Linked DNA regions of Homo sapiens: region 2 is linked to region 1. Evidence: promoter capture Hi-C in human tissues and cell types (Jung and others, 2019). All regions are on one chromosome and are shown on one strand. Each heading gives the region's core, a stretch centred on a gene start or on the middle of the fragment in contact. The rest is flanking DNA. Distances are from core to core; before and after follow the strand shown. Region 1 holds the start of GLYCTK (glycerate kinase). Region 2 overlaps POC1A (POC1 centriolar protein A).

Region 1 (5,207 bases), core at 1,043-3,542:
TTTTTGGAAAATGTTGTAATTCTGGTCAGCACTCCTGTTTTTGCCTATATAAACAATCTTTTTTTTTTTTTTTTTTGAGACGGAGTCTCGCTTTGTCACCCAGGCTGGAGGGCAGTCACGCAATCTCGGTTCACTGCAACCTCCCAGGTTCAAGCAATCCTCCTGCCTCAGCCCCACCAGTAGCTGGGATTACAGGCACACACCACCATGCCTAGCTAATTTTTGTATTTTTAGTAGAGACGGGGTTTCGCCATGTTGGCCAGGCTGGTCTTGAACTCCTGACCTCAGGTGATCCACCTGCCTCAGCCTCCCAAAGTGCTAGGATTACAGGTGTGAGCCACTGTGCCCGGCCCATGCCCAGCTAATTTTTGTATTTTTTAGTAGAGATGGGGTTTCACCATATTGGTTAGGCCAGTCTCGAACTCCTGACCTCAAATGATCCCACCTGCCTCAGCCTCCCAAAGTACTGGGATTGCAGGCATGAGCCACTGCACCTGTCCCAAAAACACATTTCTAATGTCAACCTAAAAATCATCAAAAGGTTCGATATCCAGTTAAAAGAATTTATTCAAGCATAAAGTGTGAGGGCAGCCATCCAGGGAAACACAGACACCAAGCAGTGGCAATTAGTGTTCTCCAGCATGGGGAAAGATGAAGGTTGTTTATATAGGCCGGGCGCCTGTAATTGTTTATACGCCTGTAATCCCTGCACTTTGGGAGGCCAAGGGCGGTGGATCACAAGGTCAGGAGTTCGAGACCAGCCTGGCCAACATGGTGAAACTCTGTCTCTACTAAAAATACAAAAATTAGCTGGACGTGGTGGCGGGCGCCTGTAGTCCCAGCTATTCGGGAGGCTGAGGCAGGAGAATTGCTTGAACCTGGGAGGCGGAGGTTGCAGTGAGCCGACATCGTGCCCAGGCTGCAGTGCAGTGGCCGTGAGCTGAGACTGTGCCATTGCAGTCCAGCCTGGGTGACAGAGCAAGACTCCACCTCAAAACCAAGAGAAAGAAATGTGTTTTTGTTTGTTGGTTTTTTTTTGAGACAGGGGCCCAGGTTGGAGTGCAGTGGCGTGATCAAGGTTCACTGCAGCCTCTACCTCCCAGGCTCAGGTGATCCTCCCATCTCAGCCTCCTGAGTAGCTGGGACTACAGGAGCATGCCACCACACCTGGCTCTTTTTTTTTTGGTAGAGATAAGTTTCGCCATGTTCCCAGGCTGGTCTCGCATTCCTAGGCTCAAGCGATCCGCCCACCTTGGCCTCCCCAATGTTGGGATTACAGGCGTGAAACACTGCGCCCTGCCAAGAAACATGTTTCAATAAAATTGTTAGGAAATCAAGTGTGTGATTTGTGATGCAACTCTCTCCTCTATCTCCCTAAGAAAACATCAGTAAAAACAGTGAACTGTTTTGTATTTTTGGAGTCTGATCAGGACTCATCTTATGAATGTGGGAAGGCATCCAGCCAACACAGGGTAGGCCCCGGATGAGAGTAGGGACAGCGAGGTAGGCCCAGAGTCATTAGCGTTTACATGCCGCTTATGTGCTTGAGGATCGCAGAATGGAACTCTTGCTAAGCCAGAGCTGTATTTGGTGGCCCATGGTGGGAGAGGGAAGAACAATAATAAGTTGTGGAATAAAAGCCATGGAGAGGAGCGGGAATTACTTAATCTGGCTCCAGAAGGGGTGAGTTGTGGGGAAGTAGTGATTCTCAGTTCGTTTGCTCAGCCCAGTCAGTGCCTGACACTCAGGGTGCATCTGCTGACTGACCGTACAGGATAAAGGAAGGGAGAGGCCGGGTGCGGCGGCTGAAGTCTGTAATCCCATCACTTTCGGAGGCTGAGGTGGGTGGATCGCTTGAGGTTAGGCGTTCGAGACCAGCCTGGGCAACATGGCGAAAGCCCGTCTCTACTAAAAAATACAAAAATTAGCCCGGAGTGGTGGCACATGCCTGTAATCCCAGCTACTCGGGAGGCTGAGGCATGAGAATCGCTTGAATCCGGGAGGCGGAGGTTGCATTGGGCCGAAACCGCGACTCTGCACTCCAGTCTGGGCGACAGAATGAGACCCCGTCTCAAAAAAAAAATCGGCAATCGGTGAGGCGGGGATTATTACCCTCAATGTAGAGATTTAAAAAATGAGGACTGAAGGTGACTCCTTCCAGGTCTGTCAGTGGCCAGCAAAGAGCCAATATGCTAAACTCTCCCCTCCCGGACACCGGCTTCAGCCAGAGCTCGCACCCGCCTGCGCCGCTCCACCCACCCACACTTCCGGCTTCCGCTCCGCCCACCCCCTAGTACTTCCGTTCTCCAGCGCTGGGCACCGCGGCCGGAGCTGTGGGCTGGTAAGTCTGCGCCGCCAGGGCTCGCATGGCCTTCAGAAGCGGTCCCTGGGCTGGGCGATGACGGGTCCTGGTGGCAGCAGGCCCTTCTTTCTCGCATCACCGGGCATTACGCGGCAGCCATTTCCCTCGCTAAGGCCCTACCTTAGGATGACGTCACTTCCGGCCCCCTACTGTCTAGGGAAAGCCGGAAATGGTACCAGCCTTCTTTGATGGCGGGGAGGAGTCAAGACCGGTAGTCTTCCTATTTCCGTTGTTTTGCTCTGGAGCCTCCCGGAGTTTCGGAGAGACCGTGTCTTGGATAGAATTGGAGGACTTAGCAAATAAAAATGCAAAGCGTCCAGTTACATTTTTTTTGAGTTAGAATCTCACTCTGTCACCCAGGCTGGAGTGCAGTGGCGCGATCTCGGCTCACTGCAACCTCCGCCTCCCCTGTTCAAATGATTCTCATGCCTCAGTCTCCCGAGTAGCTGGGATTACGGGCGCCCACCACACCCGGCTAATTTTTGTATTTTTAGAAGAGACGGGGTTTCACCACGTTGGTCAGGCTGGTCTCGAACTCCTGACCTCAGGTGATGCGCCCGCCTCAGCCTTCCAAAGTGCTGGGATTACAGGCGTGAGCCACTGCGCCGGGCCACGTCCAGTTAAATTTGAGTTAAGATAAACGACGAATAATTGTTAAGTCCTAAACATTGTATGCACATACTTATACTTTAAAAATTACTTGTTTATTTGAAATTCAAATTTAACCGGAAGTCCTGTATTTTCTCTGGCAGCCTTAGCATTGAGCGTCCCCCTGTCCTGTGCTCATACCCAGTGGCAAGGCTGGGATCTTCTAGGCTCTTGTCCATCTGGGAAATAGATACAAATTTCATCCAGGCTATAAAGACCGGCTGTCTTAGTTGCTAAGATGCTTTTAGCTCCAAGTCCAATGGGCAAGCTCCAGGGGTCCCCCTGGCCAAAACTGGACCCATTTTCGGAATCCCCATGACGATGCCCTCTGTGTTCCCTTTCACAACAGAAGTCAGGCATGGCTGTCTTTTCTTACCGGAGAGCTGAGAACTAGGCAAGCAAAATGGTCAAAGTCTAGAAGTAACCACCATATTTGGGTGTGGGGTAAACCGGTGTTTGAGATCTGTGTTGCAGTGGACAGTATCAGAGAGCCTGAGGTTGTTAAGGGAAGAGCGTAGTGTTAATCTCACCCCATGTCTCATTTTGCGGATGAGGCCCAGTGAGAGAAATGGAGGTGTCCCAGCCACTCAGAAAGCCTATAGTAGAGCTGGAACCTCAATTCCCAGCCTCCTTACCCTGCTCAGTCCATACTTGCTGATGAAGTCAGCTTGCAACATTTATGGTAGGCATTTATTAAAGTAGATGCAATAGTACATATGTAGTACAGATGAGCTGTTTGGGTCTTTGTTGTTCCTATACCCCTCTACAGCTTCCTGACCTTCGCCCCAAGGCTTCTTTAGCTTTTACTCTGCCCAGTGGGGAAAATGGCTATGGGCTCAGTTATGGGAGCCTGGCCTTTGCCTACTTCAGCCCTTGGGCTCTCACCACTGTGGGTGGTGTGACCTAGGACTTGTTTTTGTTATCTTGGAACCAGAAGGCGTGTTCTTGGCAGGGTTGGGTCTGGCCAACTGTGTGGGTAGAAGGGCATCCTTTTCTGTCCTGCAATTGGGCTTCATGGCACATGGCCTCACATGGTGCCTGGGGACTTTTCTAAGGTTCCACCATGAGCCAGACTTTGCCCTCACTCCTGATTTGAACCTAAACCTCTTGCTGAACTGGTCCTGCATACTGAGATTCCTCAGATTGCTTGCCCTGAGGATGTGTTCTGGGTTTGACCTGATAAACCTGCAGCCTCCTATAGACCCTGACTTCCCAGGCTCCTAATCCCAGTCTCATGAGATAATGAAATAGAGAAGACTGGAGGTCAATGGGCTCAGGGTCAGTTGGTGGGACAATCAACAGCTTCCTGGCAGCAGAGGTGGTAAAGAGGCAAGGAAGGAGTGCCAGAAAGGGGCGTTGCCCCAGGGTAACAGCGCAGAAGTGCAGGGGGTGGAAAAGGGGTGGGATGGGAGCCCACTGGTAGAAATTACTCCCTCTGTCAATGATTAACTCCCAGCCAAAGGGGTGACCTGGGAGGAGGGCCCAGCTAATAGGAACTTTGGACTTGAGGCAGAGTATCCAGAGGGCCGGCATGTGGTCTGCAGAAGAGGAGGACGTGGCTGGGTGGCAGGGCTGGTCTCCAAGGACGAGTAAGATCCTGCAGCTGCAGGCTTCAGGAAGTCTCCTGGGGCTATCAGATGGCTCCTTCTTGTAGCAGCAGCTGTGGGGTCCACTGGCCCTGAGCCCTCAGAGGGGCGGCCGTGGGGGACCTCCTGTCTTTTGCCTTGCAAGGGCCTCAGTTGTGCTTTTTCCCTCTAGGCAGCCATGGGTGCCAGGCAGTGCTGAGAGCAGTGGGGCATGGCTGCAGCCCTGCAGGTCCTGCCCCGCTTGGCCCGAGCCCCCTTGCATCCACTCCTCTGGCGGGGCTCAGTGGCCCGTCTGGCCAGCAGCATGGCCTTGGCAGAGCAGGCCAGGCAGCTGTTTGAGAGTGCTGTAGGTGCAGTGCTGCCGGGCCCCATGCTGCACCGGGCACTATCCTTGGACCCTGGTGGCAGACAGCTGAAGGTGCGGGACCGGAACTTTCAGCTGAGGCAAAACCTCTACCTGGTGGGCTTTGGCAAGGCTGTGCTGGGTATGGCAGCTGCAGCTGAGGAACTACTGGGCCAGCATCTTGTGCAGGGCGTGATCAGCGTTCCCAAGGGGATCCGTGCTGCCATGGAGCGTGCCGGCAAGCAGTAAGGAGCCATGGGGGCCTGCC
Region 2 (5,207 bases), core at 1,713-4,212, 180 kb before region 1:
GCTTCCTTGAGGGCGGCTCTGGTTCAGTTCAGCTCCACGTACACTCCCAAGGGCTCACTACGAGCTGGTGCTGAGTATCTTAGGGTTACCTACCCAATACCTGGAGACAAAAATGCCTACCCTCCCACAGCACATACCTGAACCGAGGTACCCTGGTAGGGAGATCAAGGATTCCGATAAAGCCCAAGTGCTGACTGTAGATTTCTTTTATATTAAACTGCTTTGAACTAATTTTAGAATTGGAGAAAAGTTGCAAAAAATAGTACAGAGAATTTCCATATATCCCTCTGCCAGTGTTAATGTCTTACACAACCATAGGACAATGATCAGACCAGGAAACTAACACTGTGACAATACCAATAACCAAAATAGGGACCCCATTTGAACTTTACCAGTTTTTCTACTAATGTGCTTAGATCCTGATGTTCCAGAATCCTACCGATGCATTTATTATGTATTTAGCCTCCTCCCATCTGTGTCAGTTCCTTAGTCCTCCCTTGTCTTTCATGACCTTGACACTTCTGAAGAATATTGATCAGTTATTTTATCAAATGTTCCCTGACTTGGGTTTTATCATTAGATTCAGGTTATAAATACTGGACACCACCAGAAAAGTGATGTGCACAGTAACACAGGGTTCACATGGAAGGGCTTATTACAGGGAATGTTGACCTTGATCAATGGTGACACTGACCTCTCTGCCAGGTTTCTACAATGCAAAGTTACTATCTTTCCTGTGTAGTTAATTTTTGGGGACTGTGGATTTTTGAAAGGGAATGTGTTGCTGTCATTACAAACTCTGTGTGTCAGCTCCACTTGCAGCTGCCCCACAGATGAGGCATCTAATGAAGACGAGCGGCAGAGCCGACATCTCTGGGAGACGCCACAGCTCTCAGTGACAAAGAGGAACAGTAGCGGTTTATTTATAGATCCACTTGAAGACAGCTCATTGTAACTACTGGAGTTGAATTTTTAAAACCTCGGAACAAAGGCTGGCTATTTTAAACTCTCCTTGCACTTAGTTCAATGGAGAGTGTTAGAGCCACCGACCACACCCCAGGCATCACTCCCAAGCTCCGTAATTCATACTTTGTGCAGCATCACAGGACACGAGCAAAGCCTGCCAAGATAGATAACCAGGACTGGCTCTACCCAACCCGCAAAAGCAGCAGCCCTCCACCAGAGCCCTCAGAACCACCAGAGCAGATCAGCCAGAGCCCTCCACCAGCAGCCCCACGATTCCCAGGGAGGAGTTGCAGAAGGCTGTGTCCCATGGGGTCAAACAGCCTCTCCTTTCCTGGAAAATGAAGTCGCAGACAGCTGTTATGAACCAAGGTTACATCACGTCTTCCCTTCCCTCCCCCTGCAGGCTTCAAAGACAGCCAGTGCCCCCCAGCGGATGCCTGGCCCAAGATAGCTGGCAGTAGCTAGCCCACCTGTGCCTGACCCACCTCCAGGAAGGAGCGAGGAGCTCACAGTACCAAACTCTCCTGGAGGACATCAGGAGTGTGGTGTGAGCCCAGACGCGCCCCCTTCCCCAAGCCCAAGACAGCTCCAGGCCAAAGCCCCCTCAGCTACTCCGCCTACCAGAACCATGGGTCGGGGAAGGGGGAGCAGAGAACATGGGTTTTCTCAAAGCTTTCCGCATCCTTATTTGAACAATGACACAATGTGGGAAAATGTGAATGTGGACTAGATATCTGATATGAAGGAACTATTAATTTCATTGGATGTGATAAGAGCACTGCTATTATATAACTAAGAAATGGCCTTATTTGGAGTAAAAAATGATATATCTGGGATTTTTAAAACCACTCAAACTCTTCTTTAAAATGTGGGGGAAACAGATGAAATGAGATTAGCAGAATGTTGAAGCTAGGTGAGTGGTACATGGGGTTTGTTACATTATTCTATCTTTTGTGCTAGCTTGAAATTTCCACAATACAAAGGTTTTTGTTTTGTTTTGTTTTGTTTAATTAAAACAAACAAACAAAAAAAAAAACCTTCCTGGTGACTGAAAGGAGCTGCGGAGCTGATCCAAGGCAAGTGGGACTCCAAGAGGAAGCTCAGCCACAGGATCACCTCCACTCTGGTGTCCTGGGATTTGCAAGCATAGGAGGCAGATGACTTTGTCTAAGTCCACGGAACGTTCTGACCAGCCTTTAGCACTGCCACAGAGAAAGCCCCTGATGGCAACGAGTACTCAGCGAATCCTGCAGCAATGTCCGGACCTTCAAAGAAACTAATTGTAAGATAATCTCCATGGAAACCATCTATTCTGATTTTTTTTCCATGGCAACCAATAAGAACATAAACACAAGCACTATCCAACACCCTTACACCACATGGCAATGCTGCTGTCCAATCTGGAAAATATAAACCACAAAGGGTTTTTTTCCATTTAAAATGAAAAGAAGTTCTGAAACTTCTAATCTAGGCATGCAGACTCTACCACCCTCTGTTGCCCTGCCACTGCCCACACCACCCCATGTCATCTGCCCCCCAAAACTGACAAATAAGGCCAGAAGGTAGCTTCCTTCTTTTAGTCTGAGACCATCAAAAATGCCAAAAGGAAAGACAGCCCGCCTCTAGCCTCACACACTCAACTTATGCTGCCCACAGACGTGAGAATGCTTTGACTTCCTGAGCATTTTTTATGTGTCAGACACATACTGAGCACCATGGCAAGAGCAAGGCCCCAGCCCTCCAGGGAGAAAAGTTAGGTCTGTAAATAACAGACAACAGGAGAGCGGGGCTGCTCCAGGTAGGAGAGTGCTCCAGGCAGGTGGAGCAGGAAGAACTCACCAGCTGCCAGCCTCCCAAGGAAGCCTGCATGGAGGAGGTGCCATCTGGAAAGAGACTATAAGGATGAGCGCAACAACACTAGGAGCAGTGAATGGTGGCCCCAAAAATCAGTCAGACTTAAGCGACAGGTTTATTTCTACCTGTGGCTCATTTATTTCATTTTCAGGTTTCTGAGCTTAAAAAAATAGAATGAAAACAAAAGAACAAAATAAAAGGGAAGAAAGATCCTTAAATGCCAAAGCCCTCGGTTCTTGTGCACCCTCTCTGCTTTGCAGCAAACAATTGTTACAAGACGATTCTTGTGGCCTCTGTGGGCTCTCCTGTGGAGAGGTGATGATGGGGCTTTAGATTGCCTGTCATCACTATTGGCAAAAAGGCAGTGTCATAGCAGTGGCCCCAGTGTGTGAAGCAAAAGGTCCTTCAAGGCATGCAGCCTGGCTCTGCCTGGGGCCATGTGTGCCTTGTAGGAAAGCATCACAGTGTTGAGACTCCACTTTCTGTCCTGTGACTCAGGTTCATTTCCCCACATGCACATGTGGAAGCTCCAATAACCCTAAGCCCAAGCTTTGGCTGCCAGGGGAAAAGGAAAACCCAAAACAGTTCTGGAACTCTCGAAAGAGATAACGAAGCTCTCAAAGGAGTGTGTGTGCCTGGGTTTATATGCCAAATGTGTACTGATGCACGCAGAGCTGGACCCAAGGGCCTCCAGCCTTTGTCTGAGTTCCTGAGTCAGGTTGCTCTGTCTTCCTGATACTGTGATTGTCTTAATATGCTTTTCCCTGGATGTCTGAGAACACACCTCCCATTGGTTTAAGTCATTAAATAGGCCTTCCTTCCTCAACATCATGAACTCTCCTCTGGAGAGGAACCTACTTGCTTTTAGAATGGATGGAAATTTTTCTAGTGACAGGAAACACCATTAGCCCCTCAAGGGGGCAGTTCAGAGAAGGGAGTTCTGGCTTCCACTCCAACCTTGCCACCTCTACCCTAATCGCTGTTTCAGGGCTTGTCTCTGCTCTTGCTACCTGGAGGCACCTCTTCAAGAGGCTCTGCAGGCCGGGCACGGTGGCTCATGCCTGTAATCCCAACACTTTGGGAGGCCAAGGCGGGCAGATCACCAGAGGTCAAGAGTTTGTGACAAGCCTGGCCAACATGGTGAAACCCTGTCTCTACTAAAAATACAAAAATTAGCCAGGTGTAGTGGCAGGTGCCTGTAATCCCAGCTACTCAGGAGGCTGAGGCAGGAGAATCTCTTGAACTGGAAGGAATAGGTTACAGTAAGCCGAGATCGCGCTATTGCATTCCAGCCTAGGCAAGAATGGCTAGACTCTGTCTCAAAATTAAAAAAAAAAAAAAAAAAAAAAAAGAGGCTCTGCAAATAAGACCTTCATCTGGGGTTCAAATGTTAAGCCATATACACCCAAGCCATCTCTGGCTCAGACAGAGACTCTCACCCATCTGCTTCCCTAAAGTCTAGCAGGCTGTCTGGAGGATGGGAGCTGGCCTAGGCATCCACATGTGCAGGGTGAGAAGTGGGAGACAGGACATCAAGACAGCAAGGGAGACACCAAGGATAACACAGGAGACAGGTGGCCTGGAGAACACAGATTCAAGAATAGGTGACTGGACTAATGGCAGGAGTACTAAGGGGCAGGACAGAAGCTGGGACAGAACAACAGGGCTGGCAGAGGCTCACAGCAGAGCCACAGCAAGTCCCATCTTCCTTACTACTGATGTCCTCAGCTGGTAATAAAACCACACGCCTGCCTGTCTGGTTGTAAACAGAGCCTTGGTAGATGCCTTTGGGTTTAAAGGGCCCACGGGGCAGCACTGGACTTTCTTTCTTGCTTTCCTTCTTTTTGAGACAGGGTCTCACGCTGTCACCCAGGCTGAAGTGCGGTGGTGCAATCATAGTTCACTGCAGCCTTGAACTCCTGGGCTCATGCAATTCTCCCGCCTCAGCCCTGAATAGCTGGGACTACAGGTGCATGCCACCAAGCCTGGCTGGGCTTTCTTTAAACAGTACACTGAGATTAGAACTCAGGTTGGCTGGGCGTGGTGGCTCACACCTGTAATCTCAGCACTTTGGGAGGCCAAGGTGGGTGGATCACCTGAAGTCAGGAGTTCAAGACCAGCTGGCCAACATGGCGAAACCCCATCTCTACTAAAAAAGTACAAAAAATTAGCCAGGTGTGGTGGTGCATGCCTGTAATCCCAGCTATTCGGGAGGCTGAGACATGAGAATTGTTTGAACTCCGGAGGCAGAGGTTGCAGTGAGCCGAGATCGCACCACTGCACTCCAGCCTGGGTGACAGAGCAAGACACTGTCTCAAAAAATACCAAAAACAAGCAAACAAACAAACACACAAAAAAGAACCAAGGTCATACCCTTTTCCTCTTCT

What was found. The method cuts DNA at HindIII sites, captures the fragments that hold promoters and counts their contacts. A contact is called where the count stands out against the background at its distance.
Region 2: a fragment that was not itself captured here is called in contact with the fragment with the promoter of GLYCTK in region 1 in 1 of the 25 tissues and cell types used here (dorsolateral prefrontal cortex).

Annotation. Positions count from the first base shown.
Region 1 is chr3:52,285,536-52,290,742 of GRCh38, forward strand. It overlaps GLYCTK (glycerate kinase), which reads left to right and starts at 2,293. Exons shown (of 5, transcript NM_145262.4): 1 at 2,293-2,341; 2 at 4,769-5,184. The coding sequence starts at 4,808. It overlaps GLYCTK-AS1 (GLYCTK antisense RNA 1), which reads right to left and starts at 4,198. Exons shown (of 1, transcript NR_046719.1): 1 at 3,045-4,198. LOC107986086 (a long non-coding RNA gene) reads right to left here and starts at 2,485. Exons shown (of 3, transcript XR_001740699.2): 1 at 2,298-2,485. RefSeq lists enhancers at 1,878-2,619, 1,925-3,124, 1,951-2,060, 4,864-5,207. The HindIII fragment of the contact is 16,985 bases long and covers 1-5,207 here.
Region 2 is chr3:52,107,506-52,112,712 of GRCh38, forward strand. The region is part of intron 9 of POC1A (POC1 centriolar protein A); the gene reads right to left. Among named protein-coding and RNA genes, the nearest start is that of POC1A, 44 kb to the right of the region's middle. The HindIII fragment of the contact is 6,699 bases long and covers 1-5,207 here.